Linked DNA regions of Homo sapiens: region 1 is linked to region 2. Evidence: promoter capture Hi-C in human tissues and cell types (Jung and others, 2019). All regions are on one chromosome and are shown on one strand. The core of a region is centred on a gene start or on the middle of the fragment in contact, and the rest is flanking DNA. Distances in the headings are between cores, read along the strand shown. Region 1 has its middle 130 kb from the start of LINC02343. Region 2 holds the start of NBEA (neurobeachin).

The links. The method cuts DNA at HindIII sites, captures the fragments that hold promoters and counts their contacts. A contact is called where the count stands out against the background at its distance.
Region 1: a fragment that was not itself captured here is called in contact with the fragment with the promoter of NBEA in region 2 in 1 of the 25 tissues and cell types used here (dorsolateral prefrontal cortex).

The regions. Positions count from the first base shown.
Region 1 is chr13:34,214,006-34,220,590 of GRCh38, reverse strand. No RefSeq gene overlaps it. Among named protein-coding and RNA genes, the nearest start is that of LINC02343, 130 kb to the left of the region's middle. The HindIII fragment of the contact is 4,892 bases long and covers 2,296-6,585 here.
Region 2 is chr13:34,937,381-34,944,636 of GRCh38, reverse strand. It overlaps NBEA (neurobeachin), which reads right to left and starts at 2,367. Exons shown (of 59, transcript NM_001385012.1): 1 at 1,523-2,367. The coding sequence starts at 1,816. It overlaps LOC124903231 (a long non-coding RNA gene), which reads left to right and starts at 2,447. Exons shown (of 2, transcript XR_007063908.1): 1 at 2,447-2,497; 2 at 2,935-3,316. RefSeq lists silencers at 727-816, 1,876-1,995, 2,436-2,505 and an enhancer at 2,676-2,785. The HindIII fragment of the contact is 6,257 bases long and covers 40-6,296 here.

The DNA of each region.
Region 1 (6,585 bases), core at 3,492-5,991, 730 kb after region 2:
CAAGTCACTTAGCCCTTTGTGATCTCAATTACTTCATCTGTGAATGGTAATACTTCATAGAGCCCACCAGGGTACTGTGAAGATTTGATAAAGTTAAGAGTGTTAAAGTACCTAGACAGCATAATGATTCTTCCTTTTTTTTTCCTCTGTGGTAATTTTGTTCTTGGCCATGCCCAGAAAAAAAAGGTTCTCTTCACCTACCTTCCAGAAAGAAATAAGAAACCTAGAGAAGATCTAGTGAAAAGCAGTCAAGAGAAAGAGGTGGTTCCTAAGGGGGTCAAATGTAAAAAAAAAAAAATTAAAACTTTTCTGACATTAAAGGTTGAGTATGGTGTGGTACATGATCTGAATTCAATAGCACAATACCGGAAAAACAGAATTTTGAAGCATTCCTTTAAACTTTAAGGAGATAATGCAAAGTCAAATAAAATATACAAAGTTTACAGAAGTAAAACATGAATTTAGAAAATAGACCAAACAAAGAAATATGAGTAGGTTTGGGAAATGCTAAAATAAATAAATAAATGTTGAATCCACAATGAGGTGACATAATTATTAAAGCATAAGTTTCAAAAAGGTAACATCATGACTCTCATACAGATATAAAGTAAACATGTGTCAAATATATTATTTAACATATTAAAGAGAGGACCAAGGGCCAGGGATGGTTCCTTACATTTGTAATCCCAGCACTTTGAGAGGCCTAAACGGAGGATCACTTGCCCCCAGGAGTTTGAGACGGGCCTGGGCAACATAAAGAGACCCCCATTTACAAAATATTTAAAAATTAGCCAGGCATGGTAGTGTGTGCCTGTAGTCCCAGCTACTCTGGAGGCTGAAGCGAGAGGATTGAGCCCAGGAGGTCCAGTCTGCAGTAAGCTGTGATTGGTGATTGCGCTACTGCACTCCAGCCTGGTGTCAGAACAAGACCCTGTTTCAAAAAATTAAATTTAATTTAAAAATAAAGAGAGAACCAATACAATGTAAAATCCAGTCCAAAAGCATTGTAAAAGCTAGAATTTCTAGAGTAACTTTACTGCTATGTATGATACAAAACTGATTAAAGTCTTAGAGAGCAATAAACATACTTTTGGGAATATTTGAACAGAAATTAGTTATATTTCTACTGGACAAAAATCTATCAGTTGACTCTTGTTTCTACAAGATGTAAAATAATCCAACGACAGAAAGTCAAGCCTAGAAAGAACATATGGTGATTTCTTTTGCTTCTAAGCTTCAGATAATTGTTTTTTTGGATACTATAAATTAAGATCATCTGGGATTCCTCACTTATCTCTCAAAGTAGACTTTGTAGTCTGTGGGAAGAACAACTGCCTCTTCCCACAAAATACCTCTTGGTCCACTCTTAGTCCATGGGACTTCCCATGGTTTGAATGTGTCCCCCGAAAGCTCATGTGTTGGAAATTTACTTGCCATTATAACAGTATTAAGAGATGAGGCCTTTAAGAAATGATTAGGTCATAAGAGCTCCATTCTCATGGAGTAATTAAAGACATCATTGCCATACTGGGCTAGTTATCATAGGAGTGGACTCTTGATAAAAGGATGAGTTTGACACCATTTTCTGTCTGTGTCTCAAGCTTGCTTGCCTTGTGATGCCTTCCACAGTGGGATGACCCTGGCCAGGTGCTGGCATTATGCTCTTGGACTTCACAGTCTCCAGAGCCATATGCCAAATACACTTCTGATCTTTATAAATTACCCAGTCTGTGGTATTCTATTATAGCAGCAGAAAACAGACTAAGAGAGGACTAGTCACTATACTTGGCTGCATGGCTATTAATATGATTGTAGAAATGAACTCAGGTAATGGCGACAAAGCTGAAAAAATCTGGTAAAAGTTATTATAATTAGTTTTTTCTCATGCCTAGAAAAGTCTTTTGGGTATCAGAGGCCCATAACAATGTTATTTTAACTTGTTAGTTTGACAGGAGTGGGATCCCCTTTGAAACTTAAAAGTCAGTCCCTTGAAAACTCATCGACATGTAATTTATCTGAAAGAAACTATCAAAGTAGAGCAATGAATATGGGGCATATATGGAGCATATATGGATATGAATATAGGAATTTGGAGTTTAATGGTAATTTTGTTACATTATCACACAACTTATGAAAGAAAAATCGTAGAAGGAAATAAAAAAGTAATAAAAAAAATCAAAGCTGGAATAAAAGGTTTCAAAAAGCTCCCAGAAAGCATAAGAACAAAATTCTTTCTCTCTATACAAGTCTGATAAGTACTAAAAGCTGGGATTCACTACTGCTCTGATAATAATAAATTTTATTTATGTTGAAAATAAAAAATAAGCAGGCCTGTAATTTAAGTTGTGCAGAGACATAAAGAATGTCATTTCTCACTGGAACATTCTAGGAAAGAAAGACTGACTGACAGCTAATAAAACTATACCTTAATTTGTCAGACTTTTAAAATCATTTCTGTATTACATAAAACAGGCTAATTCTAAATGCTTACATTTTCGGGATCACACAGAATTCCTGGAACAATTAATTTACAGAGGAGAGAAACAGGATTTTTATTCATATAAATAACTCGAATTGACACTGGCCTTTTTACCTAAAGGAGTTATTGAAATGGCTAGAAATGGAAGACTCAACTGATTAAAGCCTCTCCATCTTTGTCACTCTGTGCCAACCAGCGGTGGTGCGCTCAACAGAATTCGGAAGGAGAGAGAACAGCATATGGCAGAATGAGTTTTGAGCCCCATAGAAATTTGCCTCCATTCCCACTCCATCTGTGCATTGTGTGGGATCTCTCCCCATCGCATAAAGATGCTGAGCTAAAGACAGTAGAAATGTACGATGGGAAAATGCAGAAACAGCTTTCATGTCATGCTAAGCATTAACAAAACACTTCCGTTCCACAGTACACATCTTAAACTGAGAAAGATGAGTAGTGTTAAGTTTATCTGAGGGCACTCAGTGATTCTTCGAGTTCAGTGCACAAAGAAAGCTTCCTGGATGGAGGCAATGTGAGCTGATTGCTGGAATATGTCAATGTTTGGCTTTGGGGTCTGGGGAAGGATGTGTTGTGCAAATCATTGGCCTCCTGGGAAACAAGAAATACATTCAGGCGGCCAGCGAGTCCCAAGAGGACTCACGGTAGGCAAACAGTTTGGGTATTTCTCATGTGCACCTCAACGCAAACAATTTTGCTAACAGAAGCTGAAAAAAAGAAAAATGAAGCCAGTAATTTGTGTTTTATTATTAGTTTTTTTGTGTGTTTTATTATTAATCAGTAGCCATTGTTTCTTAAAATTTGTAGGGAAACCTAGAAACACATTCCATCCATTACTCTCTCTGTACCTATCCCCTTTCCACAAATTATGTTGAGGGCTCTGATTCCCTCCCCATCTTGATTAGGGGAGCCACTGTCCTGTGCCTGTGCTTCCAGCACAAAATAGACATGGGCCAAGGACAGGGAACAGGACAGGAGGCAGGATCTGGGGAGATGCCATGCCCATTGCAACCGTTCACCTCCCTTTTCCTCTCTCTCCTCTGTTAGACACACATACACACACACACACACACACACACACACACACACACCAAGGAGCATTCTTCAGCCATTGATGTAGGACAACTTCGTGCTGCCTCCATCAGAATCTACTCCTAATGCTGGAAGGCCTGATTAAAACTCCAAATTGATCAAGAATTCTTGCTTAGTTTTCAAGCTAGAAATCCTGTTTAGTTAGAACATAGTTAACTCTAACCGAATGCATCCTTTTTACTGTTATAATAGAGAGCCTTTGGGTGTTTCAGTGAATGCTACACAGGATACAATTAATGGAAGGGCATAGTTTGTGCCCCCTGCGCCCTCTTGGCCATGTTGTATTAGAAGTCACTAAACCTTTTGATTTGCCTTATTTATTTTTCTGAAGCATGCTCAATACATTTTTCCTATTTATTTCTGAAGAATTTCAGAGAAATAAACTGGTAAAAAGAACATTGGAATGATTTCCAAATATTTGGGAAATATTTTACATATTTCCAAAATACATTTGTCTAGACTCACATACCGATTTCCTAACTTGGCTGTAATTTTACGTATGTAAAGCGATGAGAAAAATTCTCTAGATTGTAACCAAAGGCAATATCCATGGCATGATATGCAGGAAATCCTCAGGAGATCTGGGGTGAAGGAAAGAATCTTTGTTCTCAGACCATGGCCCAGCCATATGCTTGCCTCCTTCCCAAGCTGTGGTGATATGGTTTGGCTGTGTCCCCACCCAAATCTCACCTTGAGTTGTAGCTCCCATAATTCCCACGTGTCATGGGAGGGACCTGGTGGGAGATAACTGAATCATGGGGGTGGTTTCCCACATACTGTTCTCGTGGTAGTGAATAAGTCTCATGAGATCTGATGGTTTTATACATGGGAGGACCCCTGCACACGCCCTCTTGCCTGCTGCCAGTAAGACATGACTTTGCTCCTGCTTTGCCATCCACAATGATTGTGAGGCCTCCCCAGCTATGTGAAAATGGGAATCAATTAAACCTCTTTCCTTTATAAATTACCCAGTCTCAGGTATATCTTTATTAGCAGCCTGAGAACAGACTAAAACATGTGGCATAGAATAAAGATGGAATTTCAAAACTTAAACTTCTGTGCAGGGCCATTGAAAACTTACCCAGGTGGAGAAAGAAGTGAAGTTTTTGCTTTAGTGAGCTGAGGCATAACTCAGGGAGACCTGGAAAGAAAGGCAAGGCCTGTACACATGCTGGAGACAAGTGGGCAGTGCCTGTACATCACCATGACTGCCATCCCACCCTGAGACGCTTGCAGGCAGGTCACCAGGACCACGGTTATTCTTAGAGTTAATATGTGTAGTTGAAAGTCCATGGAGTTTGAAATCAGGTAAACCTAGGTTGAAATCTCAACTCTGCTACTGACTATCTGAGTGAACTTGTATAAGTTGAAGCCTCTCTGAGTGTTAATTGTATCTTGGGGTAGCAGAACCCTTATTCCATGAAAATATAAAAGAGAGAGAAGAAAATCAGTCCCAGGTAGTTCACATAAGTGGGCATCTCTTCCACTGGAATAAAAAAGTAGAAGCAAGTACTACACTAAGTATCAAGACACCTTGCCACTAAACATGGCAGTCCTGAAGGAGCAAGTCACTCCAGCTCTCTAGATTTCCACTTCACCATCTAAAAAACAATCAACCCTATGATCCTATGGATGAAACACCTCCACTCCACACAGAGTCTTTGTATGTTAGTGGCAAAAAGGTCTTTGAATGTTAAAACATACTTCAGTGTTAGCATTTATTCCTGGTCTTTCACTTTGGTTTGAGCCTGGAGAGGGGAGTAAGGGCTGTTGTAGAGGGAGGGTTTTCTTATCTATGGAAGAGGAGCACAATCTCATTTTCTGTTTAGCAAAAGAAGAGTGGGATTGCTAAGCCATGGATTCCGGTCATCCCTGAGCTCTCCTGCCTTGGGAACATTGTTCATTAGAGTTCAGTAAGGTGGCCCAATATCACTACGCTTCAGAAGTACGTCATGATAAATAGTGCCACCTGCAGCATCTTTATTTAGCCTTGGGGACTTTTCATATTAAAACTCTTATAGAGTGACATAGTTAGAATATTTGTTAGTGACATTTCTCCTGAAAGCTTGGATAATGCATATGCTTACAGAAGAACAAATGAAAGCAGAAGGCTGGTGAGTCAGCAGTATCCCTTAACAATGTACTGTGTGACTTTGCAGAAGCTCATAGGAGTAGTTTTCTTTCTATGGAACTTCTTTGCTTTTCCTTGATCATTGTACTCTATTAAATCAGAACATTGTACTCTATTAAATCAGAACCCAAGGGTATAGTAATTAATCCTTCAAAGACAAGGGACCTTTCACAATATTATAATCCATTTCTTACTTTTGTACATAATTCATTCCTGAAAATATGTATATATGAATGTTGAATATAAAAAGTAGATATTCTCATGAGTGGTGTTTCCGTACCTGTAACTCTAAAAATATAAGAAAATCCCCAAATGTCATGCAATATTACATGATTATTTAAAATATAACTAATAAATCAAACGTTAACATCCAACAACATAAATTCACTTCCCAAAGTTAATAAGAGGTGAGATTTAGGAAACATACCAGCCCTCATTTTGCCAGAATAATGAATACATTTTTTTATGCTGAAAAATGTTGCTAAAGAAGGTTGAATACTGGTTTTATATTTTGTATCAAGCAGAATCTTGATCAACATTTCAATGGAAATTTACTCTGTGTCTGGATCATAGAAATTTTATATAGCTTGGTTTTAACTTATCATTTTTATGACATTTGATAATGTTTCCACAATCATATGTTTCATGTGTGTCTTTTAGGTTTTGTGAGTTCTCTTCACTGAAGAACAACTGGTCAGGTAGTTGAACTCAAATGAACACTGACTCTAAACATGGGCTACTCTCAGTATCCCCTGATGACTCCTCTTCTGGAATAGTACCAACCTGAGAGAGTCCCTGTTAAATCTTTAGGAATTATGTGACCTGATTGATATCACAATGACAACTTGAAATCAACCATGGTGATAAT
Region 2 (7,256 bases), core at 1,118-3,617:
TAGTTAAAATTAAAACTCAAGAAAACTGTATTTCTAGTAGTGTTCTGAAAAGAACTTGGTTATATCAACTTAGTGACATTCCCTCAAACTTACACTGACTTTTCATGATGATTTATTTGAAAGGTACAAAAAAGTAAAAAGAGGTGTTTTGTTTTAAACAGCAATGAATATAACAAAGACAGATAATCTCCTTTGACCTGACACACTAGCAAAAGGAAAAAAACAGCTTCAACTTTTCTGTGCATTTACGAGGTTCATAAACCGTAGACATTATCTAATGCATGTCTCAGGACACCACTGATGTAGCTGCAGCTTTCTCTCAGTTTTCCAATAGAGTAAGTAAAAATAATTGCTTAGCTGAAAAATGACTGCATGGGTGTTACAAAGTACCCCTGTAAGCATATTGTTATATTCCTGTGACCCCACACCAAATACAATACTCAACTGATTGCTCTCGATTTATGTCTTGCCTCCCAAAGCCCAACCTTACAGTATGTCAAAGACTAGATCTATTGCAGAGAAAACTGTTTAAAAAGCTTGGCTGCATTTAAAAACAAAACAAAACAAAACAAAACCTCCATTTACAAAGCACTAAATATGAACTACTGTTAATTATCCTCAATGTATGATTCTCCTCTCCTTCTTTCCATTTCTTTCCCTGACATCTTAAACGCTTCTGAGCCTCTCTGTAGATAGCGCAAAACATTAAGTCATACACACTTCTGCAGTAACTCTTTCTTACCATGAAAGGAACCAAAACCTAGGGCTGCGTTTAAAACCTTTCCTTTAGTCTTTACCCACATGCCACACTACTGAAAGTAACCACAGAAATCAACCTGTGTGATTTGGTGTCCTCACACACCTTGTGTGCACAAAAAATGACTAAGAGATCAGTATATTCAGGGCAATATTACAAAGAAGGGACGGCTGCTTCTGAGATGGAGGGGGATGGATACAGACACAACACTCTCCATCATGGCCTTGGAATATTTAAAGACAGATGCAAAACTGCATCATTTTCTGTCTCCTTCGAAAACATCACACCCCAGCTGCTCAAGTTGGAAGCTAATGCGCTTCTCACATTTCAGCAGCACGGGGGAATTTAGGCTCCAGGGGCAAGGCTGTCATCCTCGGAGAGCGACACCAAGGACAATTAAGTGTGAGAAAAAGAACCCCAGAGAACAGGAGGCCTCCTCACCTCCTAACTAAACTCTAAAGTCGACCCAAAACCTTCACCGCGGGTACTGGGTTACTCGCGGTCCTAAAAAGTGAGAAGAAGCGGTGTTAAGTTGGGCACTGCGCTCAGGTGGCAGGAGAGGACCAGAAAGAGGAGAGGAGGGAGGTGGCGTGGCTCTAGCAGCGCGCAGGCAGGTCACCCGCTGGGCAATACCGGCTGAACGCTCTGCGCTCCCAGGGACGCGCGGCGCGTGTGACCCTGGGGGTGAAGGGTGGGAGGGAAAGGCGCTGGGGACGGTGTATGTGGGGACTGGGGAAGCAGATTGAGAGCACGCCTTTTCCTTACCAGGTTGAGCACCGTCTCCACGATGTCCCTGTTGCTGACCTCTCCGACCTGTATGAGTCCAATCAACACTGCGAATTTCATCCGGATGTTGCGGATCGGCACCGAAGGGTTAATCATCCCCGCGGGGAGCATCACCGAGCCGGAGCCGGACGCCCCCCTTAGCTCCCCCATCCCGCTGCCCCCGGTGCCGCCACCACCGCTGCCCCCGCCGCCTCCGCCAGCGGCCCCGACGGCAATGAGCCCCACGGGCTGAGGCTCGAGCCCCGGGCCCGGGCCCGGCTTCTCGCTAGCCATTGGCCCCCCTCCTGAGGAGAAGGGAAGAGCAGCGGCGCTGCCGCCGCCGGTACCGTTATACCTGCCTCGGCCCCCGCCCCCCGGCCGTCGCCTCGGAGCCCCAGCATCCACCAGCGCCGCGGCGCCGGGCCCGCTCCCCGCCTGCGCCTCAGCCCGGCCCGCTCCGGCGCTCTCCCCCGCGGAGGCGGCGGGGGATCCGCAGGCTTATTCTCGGCGGTGGCGGTACCGCTAACCGCTGCCGGGCAAGCGGCTGTGCCCGCCCAGCAGGTGTGCCGCTGCCGCTGCCGCTGCCGCCGCCGCTGCCTCTGCTCTCTCCCTCTCCCGGTCTGTCCGGCCCGGCCCGCCCCCCGCGGAGATGCTGCAGCCGCTCCGAGAAGCCCGAGGACGCGAGCAGCTGGCCACGACGCTGGCCGGTGCTGAAGCTCAGGCTGTGGCCGATGCTATTGACGCTGCTGCCGCCGCTGCTACGGCCACCACTGTTGTTGTGAAGCCCCGACGCCGCCGCTCACTCCGCCATGTTGCCGCCCCCTGCCTGCGGTAGCAGCCACTGCGCCTGCGCACAGCCTCCGGGGGGGCGGAGCCCTCGGTGCACCCCCTCTTTTGCCCTGCCCTCCTTCTCTTCCCACCCACCCACCCCGACACCCCTCGTCCCTCCCCCAACCACCCCGAACGGATAGACAGGTGAGCAGGTGCATGGGGACTGCTGCCAGACACTGGGGCAAGCTGGCAGAGGCGGGGCGGGTAGTGGCTTCCTTGTGGTTTTTCCCTTGAGGGCGGATTCTCCCTTTGGGGAAGGACACAGTGTGCATGTCTTGCCTTCGCTGCCACCTCCTCCTTCTCTCAATATCCTCTTGCTGGGAGGAGGTTCCTCATCTCAGTTGTTGCATCCAGCTGCTGCTACTGCCAGTGCCACGTGCCTTGTAAGGTAGGGGAGTGGCAGACGACCTCTTTCTGCCCCTCCTCGCCCTTCCTCGCAGTCCTGTCCGCCTGCCCTCCCTAGAATTTCCCAAAGAAAAAGTGGCTGGCAAAGCAGAAACAAACGCGCGGGGGGGCGGGGGGGCGATCCTGCATTGTCGGGGGAAGAATACAGACGGAGTGTAATGGTGCTTTTTCTACAGCCATGAAAGAGGCTGACACCTGCACACTCAGGCACGACTTAAAATAGAACTTGTCAAACAGTGATCCTCTCTGGATCAAGCTCGGAACAACAAACAGCTCTTGAACTCGCCTCCCAGCCTAAAAAGACTGCAGTGTGTGACACTGTGGGGTAGTTTGGTGGGAACGACAAATCCCACACTTTCAAAATCCTGACAATCCTCAGGTATGATGCCAATTATTAATGTTTCCTTTTTTCACAGGCACGTACAATTCAGAGGACTTTCGAAATTATCTAAAAACATGGGTGATTCTCACTGCCAGCCTTGTCTGTGAGAAAAGTACATATCTATGTCTGCACAGATACGAGACAAAAAATAAACCTTTAATTTTTAAAAATTAAAATGTACACAGTAATCTTGCTGTTAGTATTGAATTAAAACTAAATAGGCATGACTGTTCCTTGAAAGGAATGATATAATTTTCTTTAATATTTCATGAGGTCTTCCCTTTTCAATAAAGATTATTGCAAGTCACCAGAAATATTAGGTATCTTGAGGTATATTCAGATCGTTTTAATTGTCCTCTCAAATGAAAAAGGTCAATATACAAATCCACCATAATCAGTTTTGTTATTATTCATATTTAATTGGACCTGCCAGTCAAGTTAACTCCCAGGATATGGGAACACGGTAAAATTCTAAGTACCACAGGTTATAAAAAAGTTCCTCAAAACCAGTACTTAGGATGAATTCTTGGTTGCATGTCTGTTTGTTTAAACTTGCACCAAAGTGATTGAATTGTTAAAGTAGTTAAGCAAACACTTCTGAAAGCAGTGGTAACTAGCATGTCCATTTAAATTAAATGGCAATTGAATTATAAAATGCTAGAATGCTTGAAACTGTACGGGAAATTTACAAAACATACAAGTCATAATAGTATGACTTGAGATATACTATATAATTGAAAAATCCTGTAACGTTTATATCCTTCTACTACATTTTTGTCTGTCCCAAGTGAGTATCATCTGCTTTTAAGAGTACTGTTTCATTTGCAAATTTAAAATGATATCTTTGTAAAATACATAAATCTAGACTGAAAGGTTGTCACACTAAGTTTTTTTACCCACTGTGCATATATCTATATGGCAGCAGGTTCTACCTTTTGCTATTTTTAGACTTCTTGCATGAGTACTTTGAGAGACAGTGACAACCTGAACTTTCTATTTCCTTTCTGAATGAATAGCTTAACATCATTTTTAACATTTCCATTTTGATTTTTCTTGTATTTTTTCTTAAGTAGTATGTATATGCAGTTGGTTGTATTTTTCTGCTCATTTTTCTTAGTGAAGATAGTGAGTGGGTAAAGATAATATCACCATTTCTAAGTAGGAAAACTCCACTTCTTTTGCCTACTTAATTCAATTTCAGAGATATTTAAAAGAGCTTACCAATTAAAAATCTTTCTCCAGTAGACAATCAGCTCCTCGCAGGCGCTATGATACTGTGGAAAGTGCATGATTCTTTGAGTCATAGTTACAACTTACTACCTTTGCAGTCTACTCAAGCTATTTGAGTTTCAGTCTCCTGGTTCCTTAAGTAGGAATGATAATATGTGTTTCATAGGGAAGTAAGAATTCCATAAAATAATTTCAGCTGAGCAGCTAGCATATAGTCAATGTGTCTTTGTGTCCTTAGTATACAGGCATGTGTGTTGCATGACCTATAAACACATGTAATACCAATTATAACCACATACAAGTCTGCATAATTGCACAGTTATATGTCTTCCATACCATCCCAAAAGCATAAAGTTCAGAAAAGTCAACAGGTCTATTTCTTTTTGGCCTACAAAACCTTTTCCCGGAAAATGTGCAAATAACTTTACATTTACATTAACAATATTTTGAAAGAAAAGCTACATAATAATAGAAGATACCCAATATGTATATTTTTAAATCTCCAGATTAAAAAATATATTTTATGTGGTGAATATTAATTTTGTATGCATTTTTGCATACCCATACTTCCTAAGGACAATCATTCAAAGATAAGAAACCTGTGAATCTGAGTTTCAGGAAGCAATATTGCAGAGAGGTTGAGAAGTCATGCCCCAGATTCAATGGAAGCTGGATTTAGATTCTAGTTCCACCACCACTTATATGTGTGATGTTGGGAAAATGACTTTAGCTTCAAAGCTTCAGTTTACTCAACCCAAAGTAAGGATGATAATACTACTTTATAGGATTAAAGGAGCTAATACATTTAACGTACTTAATGTAGTAGTAAGTGGCAATCAATAATGTTTCCCTTCATTGGCTGCCGGAAAATACCCACAGTTATTTTGTGTCATTATTTTTGGGTTTTTTTTTTTTTTGCACCTACCTTGCCTGACATAATTTACATTGAATAAATATGTTCAAAAATGAATGGATGGAAACAGCCGTTCTCCACACTATTCCCGTTTCCTTCACCTGTTCTTTAAAGAACACATTTCTTGCTTTCCTCTAAACTTTATCTGAACAGAATACTCCAAATTCAATGTGGGTTTAGACCTGTATAAAACAGAGGGAAATTCTTACCTCACCCTCAACCTTTAGCAATATAGCTCCTGTTAATGTTGCCCCAAATCAAATTAGATCTGTTTGGTTTGTTTTGGTTTTGGATTTTTTTCTTAACATGACACTAATGATTCGTGTAATGTAGTAATGATTCACATTTGGCACGTAGTAGGTTCTCAAATAATTTTGGTTCCATTCTCCTCTCATATTGAAATTATTATCACCATTAAATTAGTTACAGATCTGCCCATTCTTCCTGGTAATAGGTCTCGCATTCATCCCACTTTTTTCATCCTCACTGCAGCCACCCTGATTCAGATCCCAGTCACTTCATACCTGGTCTCCTCTTTTCCACACTCACTCTTCTCCAGTCCATCCTTACATGGGTAATCTTCGTAAAGGTCCATCTTGATGGACAGATTAGACCATCAGGATTAATTAGGATTAATAAAGAGTTTTACTTTATTAATCACAATAGCTTCTGCATGAAATAATTATCGACCTGAAAAACTAAGGCGTTTTCTTTTGTTATTACTGTTTTTTTAGCAGCAGCATATCTACAATTTGTAGCTTTACATGTAGATTTTGAGATATAAGTACAAAATTGAACATATCAATTTAAATTTAAATTTTATTTTAAGGCCAGGCATGGTGGTCCATGCTTGTAATCCCAACACTTCGGGAGGCCAAGGCAGGTGGGTCACTTGAGGTCAGGTGTTGAAGATCAGCCTGGAAAACACGGTGAAACCCCATCTCTACTAAAAATACAAAAACTAGCCAGGTGTGGTGGTGGCCACCTGTAATTCCAGCTACTCAGGAGGCTGAGGCAGGAGGATCAGTTGAACCCGGGAAGCAGAAGTTGCAGTGAGCAGAGATCATGCCACTGCACTCTAGCCTGGGCAAGAAACCAAGACTCTGTTTCAAAACAAAAAAAAAAGATTATTTAATACAAATTTTCTATTTAATTATCCATTAAATTTCATCTGCTAGGAATTTCTTAATCCTGATTATATCATGCAAATAATTTATTGTCTTATTAGTCTATGTGTAAATTTGGGAGCATTCCTTCTATACCTCCATTCAAATGTTGATTGAACAGGATGAAAACAGCTCAGCAGTCACCAGTATCACTCTGCTTGAATCAATTCACGTTTTTCAAACTGTGGGTCCCATCCTAATAGGGAGTCATGAAATTGATTTAGTGGGTTGCAACCAACAGGGTTTTTTTTAAATGAAATGAATAGAAACACACATAATGAGAAATTTCAAAATCTATTTTGTAAGGGTAAGTACCATTTTATAAGATCTGCTTTAATTACACACACGTACATAAAAATACATATGTATGTTTACTAGGTAATGATGTAATATGTATTTCTTACTGCAAATTGTAGTCAAAAAGTTTGAAAACTGATTTAAGTTGTTTATAAGCACCTGTTTAGCATACTCCTTCAATAATAAATTAGCTACCATAGTGTGCTGATAACTAGCACACATATTCCTCTGGCTTTACCAAAGGATACCGTAAGGGACCTTGACAACTGTCTAGCTGCAGTCTGGATACTCTCTGTTTCTGTATCTGAGCAAAATTAAATGAAAATATATTGATGTGAAGTATTATTACTTGCTTTGGAGATATTAAGCTACTTGCTATGGATTTTCGAGAATTAACCTCACCCTGCCTTTAGCACTTCAATCCTCTGGCACTCCTAGTTCTCTATGACTCCTCAAAGACCATTGAGAGTTGTTCAGTGATCTAGTTTTCAGATTGTTTTAGGATCAGTG